Regions from separate parts of the Homo sapiens genome. Here regions 2, 3 and 4 are each linked to region 1. Evidence: promoter capture Hi-C in human tissues and cell types (Jung and others, 2019). All regions are on one chromosome and are shown on one strand. Each heading gives the region's core, a stretch centred on a gene start or on the middle of the fragment in contact. The rest is flanking DNA. Distances are from core to core; before and after follow the strand shown.

The links. The method cuts DNA at HindIII sites, captures the fragments that hold promoters and counts their contacts. A contact is called where the count stands out against the background at its distance.
Region 2: the fragment with the promoter of RHEBL1 here is called in contact with the fragment with the promoter of MCRS1 in region 1 in 1 of the 25 tissues and cell types used here (dorsolateral prefrontal cortex).
Region 3: a fragment that was not itself captured here is called in contact with the fragment with the promoter of MCRS1 in region 1 in 1 of the 25 tissues and cell types used here (IMR-90 fibroblasts).
Region 4: a fragment that was not itself captured here is called in contact with the fragment with the promoter of MCRS1 in region 1 in 2 of the 25 tissues and cell types used here (adrenal gland and hippocampus).

What each region holds. Positions count from the first base shown.
Region 1 is chr12:49,566,785-49,569,474 of GRCh38, forward strand. It overlaps MCRS1 (microspherule protein 1), which reads right to left and starts at 1,358. Exons shown (of 15, transcript NM_006337.5): 1 at 1,264-1,358; 2 at 1-57. RefSeq lists enhancers at 654-1,457, 1,808-1,857. The HindIII fragment of the contact is 15,517 bases long and covers 1-2,690 here.
Region 2 is chr12:49,068,614-49,071,303 of GRCh38, forward strand. It overlaps RHEBL1 (RHEB like 1), which reads right to left and starts at 1,366. Exons shown (of 8, transcript NM_144593.3): 1 at 1,121-1,366; 2 at 422-493. The coding sequence starts at 1,172. RefSeq lists enhancers at 1,080-1,389, 1,760-1,809 and a silencer at 1,410-1,529. The HindIII fragment of the contact is 9,146 bases long and covers 1-2,690 here.
Region 3 is chr12:49,199,726-49,202,415 of GRCh38, forward strand. No RefSeq gene overlaps it. Among named protein-coding and RNA genes, the nearest start is that of TUBA1A, 12 kb to the left of the region's middle. The HindIII fragment of the contact is 4,030 bases long and covers 1-2,690 here.
Region 4 is chr12:49,232,845-49,235,534 of GRCh38, forward strand. It overlaps a transcript of TUBA1C not described here. Among named protein-coding and RNA genes, the nearest start is that of TUBA1C, 31 kb to the right of the region's middle. RefSeq lists a silencer at 1,633-1,922. The HindIII fragment of the contact is 6,126 bases long and covers 1-2,690 here.

The sequences.
Region 1 (2,690 bases), core at 108-2,607:
TCCCACAGGCTCATCCAAGGATTCTGACCAGGTGAGCTTAAAGGCTGAGAGGAGATTCTGCAAAGGAGAAATGAGGCTCCCTGAGGCTCAGATTTCCAACTGGCCAGCCTCACTTCCTTATACTGGCTCAGGTCCCCCAGGGTCCCATAAGCTAGGGAAGACATAAGGACAGGAAAGAGGCATAAGGCCCCACTCTGCCAATAATAGCCTTAGACATCAGTCTTGTGAAGGTCACTGGCACCTTTCAGAGTATGATAACAGCTATGGACTGCAGAAAAGGGTGCAAACACATACTATTTTAGAGGGTTCATAGACCCTTTAATTCTACTGGTATCTCCTAGGTTAAGCGCCTTGACTATAAACTAGCAAGAGACAAGGGATTCTTTGGCCCACATTTTTCTTTACTTCAGCTGTCCACTCAGCTCAGCAGCACCAGCCTTCCCCTCCCAGGCCAAAGCAGGAAAAAAGAAAGGGAGACAAAACTCCAACCAGTCCATCTCGTTTTTTTTTTGTTTTTCTTTTCCATTTGGGGTTTTTACTGAAGATTTAGTAAGTGGTATTTCCATGAGATACCATCTCGTGGAAACCAAAAACCACTGTTTGGGAACTGCGTGATTATCAACCACGCTGTGCCCCAACAACCCCTAGAGAACCCAGGTACTGGACTTTCTCGGGGCGCTCCTCTCGTGAGTCCCCACTTCTAACCAGGGTGGCTCTTAGCTCAGTGTTCTAGCCCTGTCCCCAGGTGAGCCTGTCGCTCTCCGCTCCATAGGCTACGACTAAGAATCTTGACATCTGAGGAGAGGGCGAAGGGGCCCGAGCTTGCCGGCAAACTGAGGTAGGGTCTGTGCCCCTTCCTTACCGGACCCTCCGCCCCTCGTTCTCCCAAGAGTGCACACCCAAGGTAGGGGATCGGTCCAGGTCTGTCTCAAGAACTCGGGGTAGGAGCATTGATGAAGTCACCTCTGCAACTCAAAGCAGAGCACCAAGTAGCCTTGGTTTGAGACCCACAGGCTGGTGGCTGGGGAGGTGGGGGTAAACTCGCAAGCCCATTCTCACCCCACGGTCTCCATGCCTTTGCGCATGCGTAACACTTCGAGCCAGATTCTAACCCGGTCCGGCCCACGCATGCGCAGCTTTTCGGGGCGCCACTGGGGCGGGGCCCCAAACTTGGGGGGTGGTCGTCCCCGGCGGCACTCTGCAAAACTCCATTTCATCCCCAACTCCTCTGAGAACCCTCAGAGGCGAACCGCGAGGTCTCACCATTCCTAGACTGCCAGATCCAACAATTTCTCCGCGGCGACGGTAGCAGCCGCAGGGCCAAAGCCGGCTTCCGTGAGGTACGTCTACTTCCGGTTAACGAACCAGGGGGCTGGCAATCTCTTCCGGTTCGTCTTGGCAACGTGTGTGAAGGGGGCGTGGCCATGGTACGGAAAGTGTAAATATTTTACCAATAGCGGAAAGTAAAGGCTTTCCTAGTTGGGACAGCATATAGGGAAACGTTAAGGATTATAGGCACCGGAGAGGTAACCCGGCTTGAGGGGTTGGTTAAAGGGAAAGGCGAGACTTAGGGCGAGACCGAGCGGGGCTAATTGAGGCGACCCGGGGAGGGGCGGGACCGCGGACTGGATTTCGACTTCCAAATTCCCACGAGGTATAGGAGTCTGAGGGTTGCACAGGACCTTATGCATTGTTTGACTCCTCCAGAGCCTTTAGAGAAACTTCTATCAGGCCCGCCTGCTAGGCACTAGTCGGGGAGATAATGTAGCCAGGGAGATGTGGCGGACAGAAAGGGCAGAGAGGCTCTCTGAGGAGCGGATGGAGGATCGTGGGCCGCTTTACTGAGAAGGAAGAGACCCTGCGAGAAGGAGTAGTGTCGACTTGGTCCCGTCAGCCGGACCCCACCTGGACGGCTGGGGCCACTTGTGGTCGCCGGGAGGTAAGAGAGAAAACCAATGGAAGCACCTTCAGAGGAGAGTGCCTTGGAAGGAATCTTGGGGTGGGAGAACGAACCTGTCGGAAAAATTGGGAATTTGGGGCTGTGAGAGATGTTCCGGAAAACTAGAAAGACTGTTGTCTAAAAGAGGAATTCTGTTTTATGCTTCCTTTGCGAGGTACTAAAGTCTAGCAGCTATAGAGAGACATACTTCAGCTCAGAATAAGAAAGATTCAGTTCCAAAGCTGTCCATCAGAGGTGTCAAGAACACATAACATGGACATTGCTAGGGAATTCAAGTGTCAAATGAGAGACTGGCCCTTTTGGCCCTGACGGTATACTATGGCCCTCTGCTTCGAGAGTACCAACCTCATTTACTGTTCTGTGGACTTGTTTAATGAGTATGTACTTATTTTAACTCCCATGAAAGAGTGTGTGTTTTATTTTTTAACAGGCACTTGATTAAATATATTATGTAAACTTGTGAAAATATCAGAAAACCAATGAAATTTTTTTTTTTTGAGACAGAGTCCCGCTCCATAGCCCAGGCTGGAGTGCAGTGGCACAATCTCGGCTCACTGCAACCTCCGGCCCCCGGGTCTCGGTTCAGGCAATTCTCCTGCCTCAGCCTCCCGAGTAGCTAGGATTACAGGCACGTGCCACCATGCCCAGCTAAGTTTTTTTTTTTTTTTTTTTGTAGAGACAGGTTTTCACCATGTTGGCCAGGCTGGTCTTGAACTCCTGATCTCATGAT
Region 2 (2,690 bases), core at 116-2,615, 500 kb before region 1:
TTAGTAGAGATGAGGTTTCACCATGTTGGCCAGGTTGGTCTCGAAATCCAGACCTCAATCCATCCGCCCGCCTCAGCTTCCCAAAGTGCTGGGATTACAGGCATGAGCCACTGCGCCCAGCCTCCCCTTACATTCTTAACCTTGGGGGTGACACAGATAGATCAGCTCCAGGGAGTTATCCAGGTAACTGGAAAGACACGCTAAGGTTCTTAATGTCTACATCTAAACTATCCCAGACTCAATATCTTGCAAAATCCATACTCTAGCCATCCATCGAACAGGATTGCTAAAGAAGAAATCAGATGTAATGTCTAAATAAATCAGCCCCTTGGCACCAGAGAAATAAATTATGGAGTTGGGTGGGGTATCCAAGCCCTCCGGGTCGCATACCACCAGCACACTAGGGGAGAAGTCTACTCACTATTCTCCACTGTAGGATCGTAGCCTTCCGAGAACTCGCCTTCCACAAATTGATGTGCCAAAGATGTCTTCCCTGTGGGGAGCAGTGTGACAGTTGTATCCAAATCATCCATCCACATTCACATCCTCTGTCCTTTCGGACTGTGGCCCAGGACCAAAGGAGACCCCAAATTAACACCACAGTCTGTGAGTGCCTCAAGCAATGCTATCCTTTGTGTCTACCCTCACCCTCTTTTCACCCAGGGTCTCCGCACTTTGGCTACCGGATGCATTCAGAAGCGCAGCAGGAAGCCTTTCCCGCCGCCTTCCCCACCCCATCCCACTCGTAGGAAGATCCAAGATTCCCTAGGATCAAGTCCGCCCCGCCCCAGGACACCTGCGACTATCTGTCCCCACGGAGACCGCGTCCCGGTTTTCAAATTGTGACCCCACCCCTATCCCCAAAGTAACGCTGGGACCACTCTGAGATTCCCGCAGCCAGGTCCGCATTAACCCTTAAGTGCTCCCGCTTCCTGCAGCCTCCACACACCACCAACTCTTCCAATCCTCCACTCTTCCATTCCTCCACTCTTCCAATCCTCGCTCTACAACCCCATCCTTACGATGTCATCATTCCTCCCTGGGTCGCGTTCCCACGGCAGCGCGCCTCTTCTGGCTACAAAGCTGCTGCGCGTCCGAGCTCTGCAGGGCGGAGACTCACCTACACAGCGGTATCCGAGGATGACCACCTTCCTGTAGCGGACTAGCGGCATGGCAGGAGCCCGCCCCAGGGGCTTGCGGAACTGCGGGCTCAGAGAGCCCGAAAACGAGGTCAGGGTGTGAGCAGGCGCGGCAGCTGGTGCAGGAAAGTCGCTCACCCCGAAGCTGCCGTGGGCAAGTTAGAAGGAAACCAAAACAAGCGCCGCGCCCGGAGCTGCCCACGTGATCACAACACAGCACGTCTAACGCCAGGGAGCCGGGCGCCCGGGGAACTACTGAGCCGCGCCGCGCCGGGCTCCGCCCCCCAGGCCGCTCGCCATTGGTCCATTAGAATGGGTAAGGGCGGTGCCGCCAGCAGGAGGGAAGGGTGGGCCTCACGTGGAGCGGGAGAACTGGGAGCTGCGCGTGCGCAGACTGGAGCCGGTTCATTCATAAAGAAACAGAAAGGAACCCGGGGTCCTAAAGGCGTTTGCGCATTTACAGCCTAGCTGAAGTGGCTTCGAAGAATTATGGATGGAAAATACCCGTTTTGTGGTTTCCGGTCATAAGATTCTAGCCCTCCCTTTTGCATGGTCTCTGGGGTCCTTAGATAGGGAGAAAACCGCCAAAGTTCTAGTATATTCCTTCTGCTTCCCCCAGCCTTCAGCCCCAGACCTATCAAGGTTTCCAGTCTTCCAGCATCTAATTTCAAACTGCAATTCTTATTCTTGCAGAAATTGCTAGAATTTATGATCAAGTAGTCTGAGGTTTCTTCTTCATCATCATGATCCTCAAATATTCATTTTTCAACAAATACTGAGTATATACTACATGTTTCAGGCATTGCTCCAGCTTTGGGGTCAGAACATGGACATCACAGACAATGTGTCTGCTCTTATGAAGGGAGAAACAAACATACAACAAGGAAATATCAGAGAGTGTTAAGTGCTGTAGAAGATGGTGTGATGAAAGATGACCACTTTATTTTTTTTATTTTTTTATTTTTATTTTTATTTTTTTTGAGACGGAATCTCGCTCTTTCTACCAGGCCGGAGGGCAGTGGCTCTATCTCGGCTCACTGCAAGCTCCGCCTCCCGGGTTCACGCCATTTTCCTGCCTCAGCCTCCAGAGTAGCTGGGACTACAGGCGCCCGCCACCGCGCCCGGCTAATTTTTTGTATTTTTAGTAGAGACGGGGTTTCACCGTGTTAGCCAGCATGGCCTCCATCTCCTGACCTCGTGATCCGCCCGCCTCGGCCTCCCAAAGTGATGGGATTACAGGCGTGAGCCACCGCGCCCGGCCGACCACTTTATTTTTTAAAGACAATACAGCATTTTTAATTTTTTTTCTTTATTTATTTTGAGACAGGGTTATGAGACTGGCTAATTTTTGTATTTTGGGGAGAGATGGGGTTTTGCTATGTTGCCCAGGCTGGTCTCGAACGCCTAGCCTCAAGTGATCCACCTGACCCGGCCTCCCAAAGTGCTGGGATTACAGACGTGAGCCACCGAGCCTGGCTGAGATGACCACTTTAGTGATACTTTCTCTCATAGGAAACCCCATTTAAACTAAGATCTGAAGGAACCAACTAG
Region 3 (2,690 bases), core at 88-2,587, 370 kb before region 1:
TTCAACCTGGAAGGCGGAGGTTGCTATGACCTGACATCGCACCACTGCACTCCAGCCTGGGTGACAGAGTAAGACTCTGTCTCAAAAAAAAAAAAAAAAAAAAAAAAAAATATATATATATATATATATATATATATATATAAAATAAATAATAATAATAACCTCATATAACACTGTGTTCCAGGCACTATTCTAAGTACTTTAATTCATTTAAGTTAATCCTAACTGATCACTAAATTCTGTCAATTACAATTCAAAATTATCTTAATAAACATTTGCAGAATGAACAATTGAGGAGGCTTCTGAAGCTTTACCAGTCTTTTTTTTTTGGAGATGGAAGTCTCACTCTGCCGCCCAGGTTGGAGTGCAATGGCATGATCTCAGCTCACTGCAACCTCTGCCTCCCAGGTTCAAGTGGTTCTCCTGCCTCAGCCTTCGGAGTAGCTGGGATTACAGGCGTGCACCACCACACCAAGCTAATTTCTGTATTATTAGTAGAGATGGGGTTTTACCATTTTGGCCAGGCTGGTCCCGAACTCCCAGCCTGAGGTGATCCACCCACCTCAGCCTCCCAAAGTGCTGGGATTACAGGCGTGAGCCACCACGCCCAGCCTTGACCAGTCTTATTAGCCAAAGGGCCTACATCAAGGGGAGGACGTGGCAGAATATTTAGGTTGGGCTTTGAACCTCCCTCTTCAAGTGTTACAGGCATAAATCTAAGACTAAAATAGAAGATACCCCCCTATAACATGTTGGAATGATCATGTACACCAGTGTTTCCTAAATGTGCTGAAGTAATTGGGGTGCTGGTTAAAATATGGATCCCCAGTTCCTCCACCAGAGAGTCTGATTCAGTAGGTCTAATTCAGTAAATAATACTCTCCTAGAATTAATAATTTATCATTTTTGAGCTAAACAATTTTAGTGTGCTTGATGTGGTTCAGCTATTTCTAAATTCTGATATCCGCTCGATAAATTTACTGAAAATTACTTTATTTATGGTTGTTAACCCTAAAGACACAACTCCTAGTGAAGCCTAGCCTCAAAGAGCATTTTAAGAAATGTCTCTCCATATTCCCTTTTTAAAATATTTTTTCTTTTTTTTTTTTTTAAACTTCTCTGGAGATAATGCTGGATCCACCTTCCTTTAGATTTAGAAATCAATTATGCACAGGCAAAAGAGAACTTAGAAAAAGCTGCCTAGCTTTTTCTTCATCTGCCTAGCCTAAAAGATCATTTAGCAAACATTTCTCCATTTCCCTGTGGATGTAAACTTTGATTATACATGTGTAGAAGAGAAAGGCTTAGAGAACGCTGTGGGTTTTTTCCTTCATCTGCTTATGTGAACAGCAATCTGTTGTTCTAGTACTGTCTACAGATTATAAGAGATGTAGAGTTTCACTCAAGATAGCATAGCCTGAAATAAGTCCCTTATATGGCAAGACTATTTATGGATTTAGTATATTTTAATAAATAAGCCCACTATTAATCTTTTTAAAATGATTTCAGTATTTTTAGATTTGTAAGAGCGACTTCACTCTCACCCCCATGTTACTAAGCAACGTATTATACAGTTGCTAGGAGACAGACTAGCAAGGTTGGGGGTATTTCAAATTTCCGTTGTCACCTTGCCTATCACATGACTATACCCTAGAGAGTTTTACAGCCTTAGAGAAAAGAGAAAAAAGTTAATGGCACATAGAAAAGAAGGAAAGAGAGATGAGGTTGAGGAATAAAGGAATAGAATAAGGAAAATTGCAAGGTATTTGAGAAGAGTCTGTGAACTTGGCAGGGAAAGGCTATTATGCAATTTCCTTGAATGAGTCATGGAAAAACCTTAAATTGCCAGTGCTGTATTTCATATTCTGTATGCTTCTACCTTTTCTAAAAACAAAATAGAGAATAAGCTTGGAGAAGAAGATCTTTCAGATAGTTTTTCTGAATATTTTCAGAAGAGTGGAAATCAATTATAACTCTTACAGAAGACAGGTATTTACAAATGAGTTTTTCAAAGTCACACATAATTTAAAATCCCCAAGTCAGATAAACAGCTTATTTCCTTCTATTTCTCCCTCAAAATAGTAAAAAAATGACAGTACTGAGAGGAAGGTTAGAATACAAGTGTTCTTAGACAAATTGAGCAGCAAGATGGTCATATAGGCTCTTGGGCAGTATGTGTTTCTGCACACAATTTAAAAAATTTAATACAAAGGAGAGAGAGAAGAAGCCTTTGTACTGTATCTCAAGGACTCTGTATCTGAAATAAGAAACCAGGCTCCAGGTCTCATTGTGTGTATGTGAAAAGTTGAGTCTTTGTGTCATTGTGTCTTCATGGTATTTACTGTTGCTAGCAACCAGGAAGCTCCCTAGTGATTGTCGCTAGGTCCTCCATGCCTCTGTCTGCCTGAAACCTTAGTCAGTGCCAGAAACACCAGAGATAAAAATCGTTGCAAAAAATCCAGCGCACATCATCCCCAGTGGTTTTATAGAAGACGGTTCATCTTGTGTTCAGTGAAAATCTGTGTAAAATGGAGGCTTCACACAGAGCTCATCCTCAGCTTCTTCTTCATCAATGCCAATCTTTCCGTGCAGAGCAGAGTGGACATTGTGATGGTTTAATTAAAATAAGATTTATATCCTAGCGTCATCAGCTTTAACCAATAAAATAATAAATAAATAAATCAGACAGC
Region 4 (2,690 bases), core at 89-2,588, 330 kb before region 1:
TTCAGAAATTTTTGCTGGGAAACTCAGAATACAAACTTAACGGCATGTTAAAATTCTAAAAATAGTTTGACCCTGCATTTCACAGAGTTCAGGGCTTCAAAACTGTGCTGTCCAAACATGATTGGTGATTAATTGATTTTGACCCCCTGCAAGAAGTGAAAGCAGCTGGTTTACGAGACTTGAGAGACAGCCGATTTTCCAAGGGAGAACAAAGAAAAAGTGGCCACCCCTCCCCGCTGGGAGCGCGCTTTGCTTTGTCTGAGCGGACTCTCTCCAGGGACTGCCGCCGGGGAGGCTCAAAGCTGTGTCCTTGCGATTAGTTTGGTACACTTGGTTCAGCAGCCTGGGGAATGTGGGGAGATGTGTGCCTGCACAGTATCAACGTTATCAGCTGCCCTGTTCATGTCGCCTCTCCCTGAAGGACACTTTCATAACACAGTAACACTTAGGAGAAGGTTCCCCTCCTTTACTTCTGTTTCTCTGCTGATAAACAAATGTCAGGCATCTTCCTGGATCCGGGCCCTGATTCACTAAGTTACTGTATATCCATTGCCCTTTTTTGTCCTCCAAACACTGAGCTCTCAGTGCTCTTCTGGCTGGATCCAGATTGTGAAGATTACAGCCCCACTGGTTCCTTTCAGGACTTGGGGGCCCAACATTCCATCTCCAGGGCCTCAAGGAGCCTTCCATTCCTGATGGGTTCCCAATTACCGTGTTTCTGGTGCTACCAGACAAAAGAGAAGGCCCTGTTTTGACCCAGAGCCCTATAGCTGTGCCCTGATGGGAGATGGGAATTTTGATGTCTGACAACCTGATCAACAGCGTGACTCCTAGACCGAGTGAACCGTGGTCCGTCCACGAGCCTTCATCACTAGAGGAAAAACGGAGATGAATGATTATGACGCTTGAAGCAACGAACCTCTGCAAGTAGGAGGGTCCGGAAGGTTATTCCGGAATCACTGGGCAAGGTGAAGGGCAGGGCTGCGTAAGCGAAAGCGTCTGCTCAGTGCAGGGCAGCATAAACTCTGCAACATAAAAAGAGGGAAGCTGAGCTCTGGCATCATCTTGCGGGTTGCAGTTCCCGGCAACAGGGCTGGCTCCAGAGCAGAAGCGCAACCCGTCATCTTCCTGCGGGCCGCAGCCATAGGTGGAGAAAGGTGGTACCACAAGGCTCTCCCACTGGATGACGGTGACGCGCAATAAGCAGATGATTGCAGAGGCTCCTGTCAAATGGGTGCAGAGAAAAGGGAAGTGGGGAGAGGAGGAGGGACCTAGAAATGGCACTGCAACGATCCTGGAATAAAAACGAGGGGCCACAGTCAGAAATGACAAACGCCTCCACCTTGAAACGCAACCCCTAGCCCATTTATCCAATTTGCCTCTGATAACTGCTTTTAATATGTTGTAAATCCCATTAAAGCAGGAGAGAATAAATGAAAGCAGTCCCCTACCAGGTTCTAATTTTCATTCTCCTTTAGCATTGTCTTAAATAACAAGGACACCCTAAAAATCAAGTCCACCCTGTTTAGCTGTGGCAAGCGCTAAAAACCGTTAAGTTCGTTGAAACACTACTCTCCAAACCAGAGTAGGCTTCCAGGTTTCTCTGCAGAGCAGAAAGGAGGCTGTGGTTGTGTCCATGACTTTGCTTCCTTGGTTAGTACGGTGACGTGCAGCGCCAGGGCCTGGGCCTGGGCTCGGGCTCCCACCCGCGTGGCGCCGCAGTCCTGGCGAGCCCCGAGCGCTCTGTCCCCGGTGACCAGCAGGCGGCGCTATCTCCAGGCCGCAGCCGCCGCCCCGCCCGCCACGAAGGCCACTTCCGCCGCGGCCCGGCGAGCGCGCCCCCGCCACGCCCTGCTGTTTAGAAGCGGCCTTTCTTCACATATCGCTGTCCGCGAAAGTTTCTGAACTCTTGTGACAATTAATGCTGTTTGAAAACCTCCCTCTTGGGTCTTTTGGAAGAGTGGACATCCTAAAAAAAATTTTCTTTTTGGAGACGGAGTATTGCTTTTGTTGCCCAGGCTGGAGTGCACTGGCGCGATCTCGGCTCACTGCAACCTCCGCCTCCCAGATTCAAGCGATTCTCCTGCCTCAGACTCCCGAGTATTTGGGATTACAGGCACCCGCCACCACGCCCATCTGATTTTTGTATTTTTAGTAGAGACGGGGTTTCACCATGTTGGTCAGGCTGGTCTCGAATTCCTGTCCTCGTGATCCGCCCGCCTCGGCCTCCCAAAGTGCTGGGATTACAGGCGTGAGCGACTGCGCCCGGCCAAAAAAAAAAAAAAAATTAATTTGGGATTGCGTAATCAAAAAGTCTTTTAGACATCTCAAATGCATTGCAACTTATTCGAATAAAAAGGGCTCCTGACACGGACAAAAAGGCAGTATAGGTTGAAAATTAGAATGCTTAAAAAAAAAAAAAATTCCCCTTCCTGTTAGTTCCAGATTTTTCTGCAAGCTTGGAGGACAGCTCGCGAAAATTCAGCTGGGGCGCCATCTGCTGGACGCGCCGCGCCGCTGCAAGGCCCTTTCCGGAAAGGTGTCGGGGTTGCAGGTCAGCGCCCCATTTTTTGTCCAGGAGAGACTCGCTGGCACCTTGGCTGGACCAGGCTGGGCGCAGTGGCTCACACCTGTAATCCCAACACTTTGGGAGGCCGAGGCAGGTGGATCACCTGAGGTCAGGAGTTTGA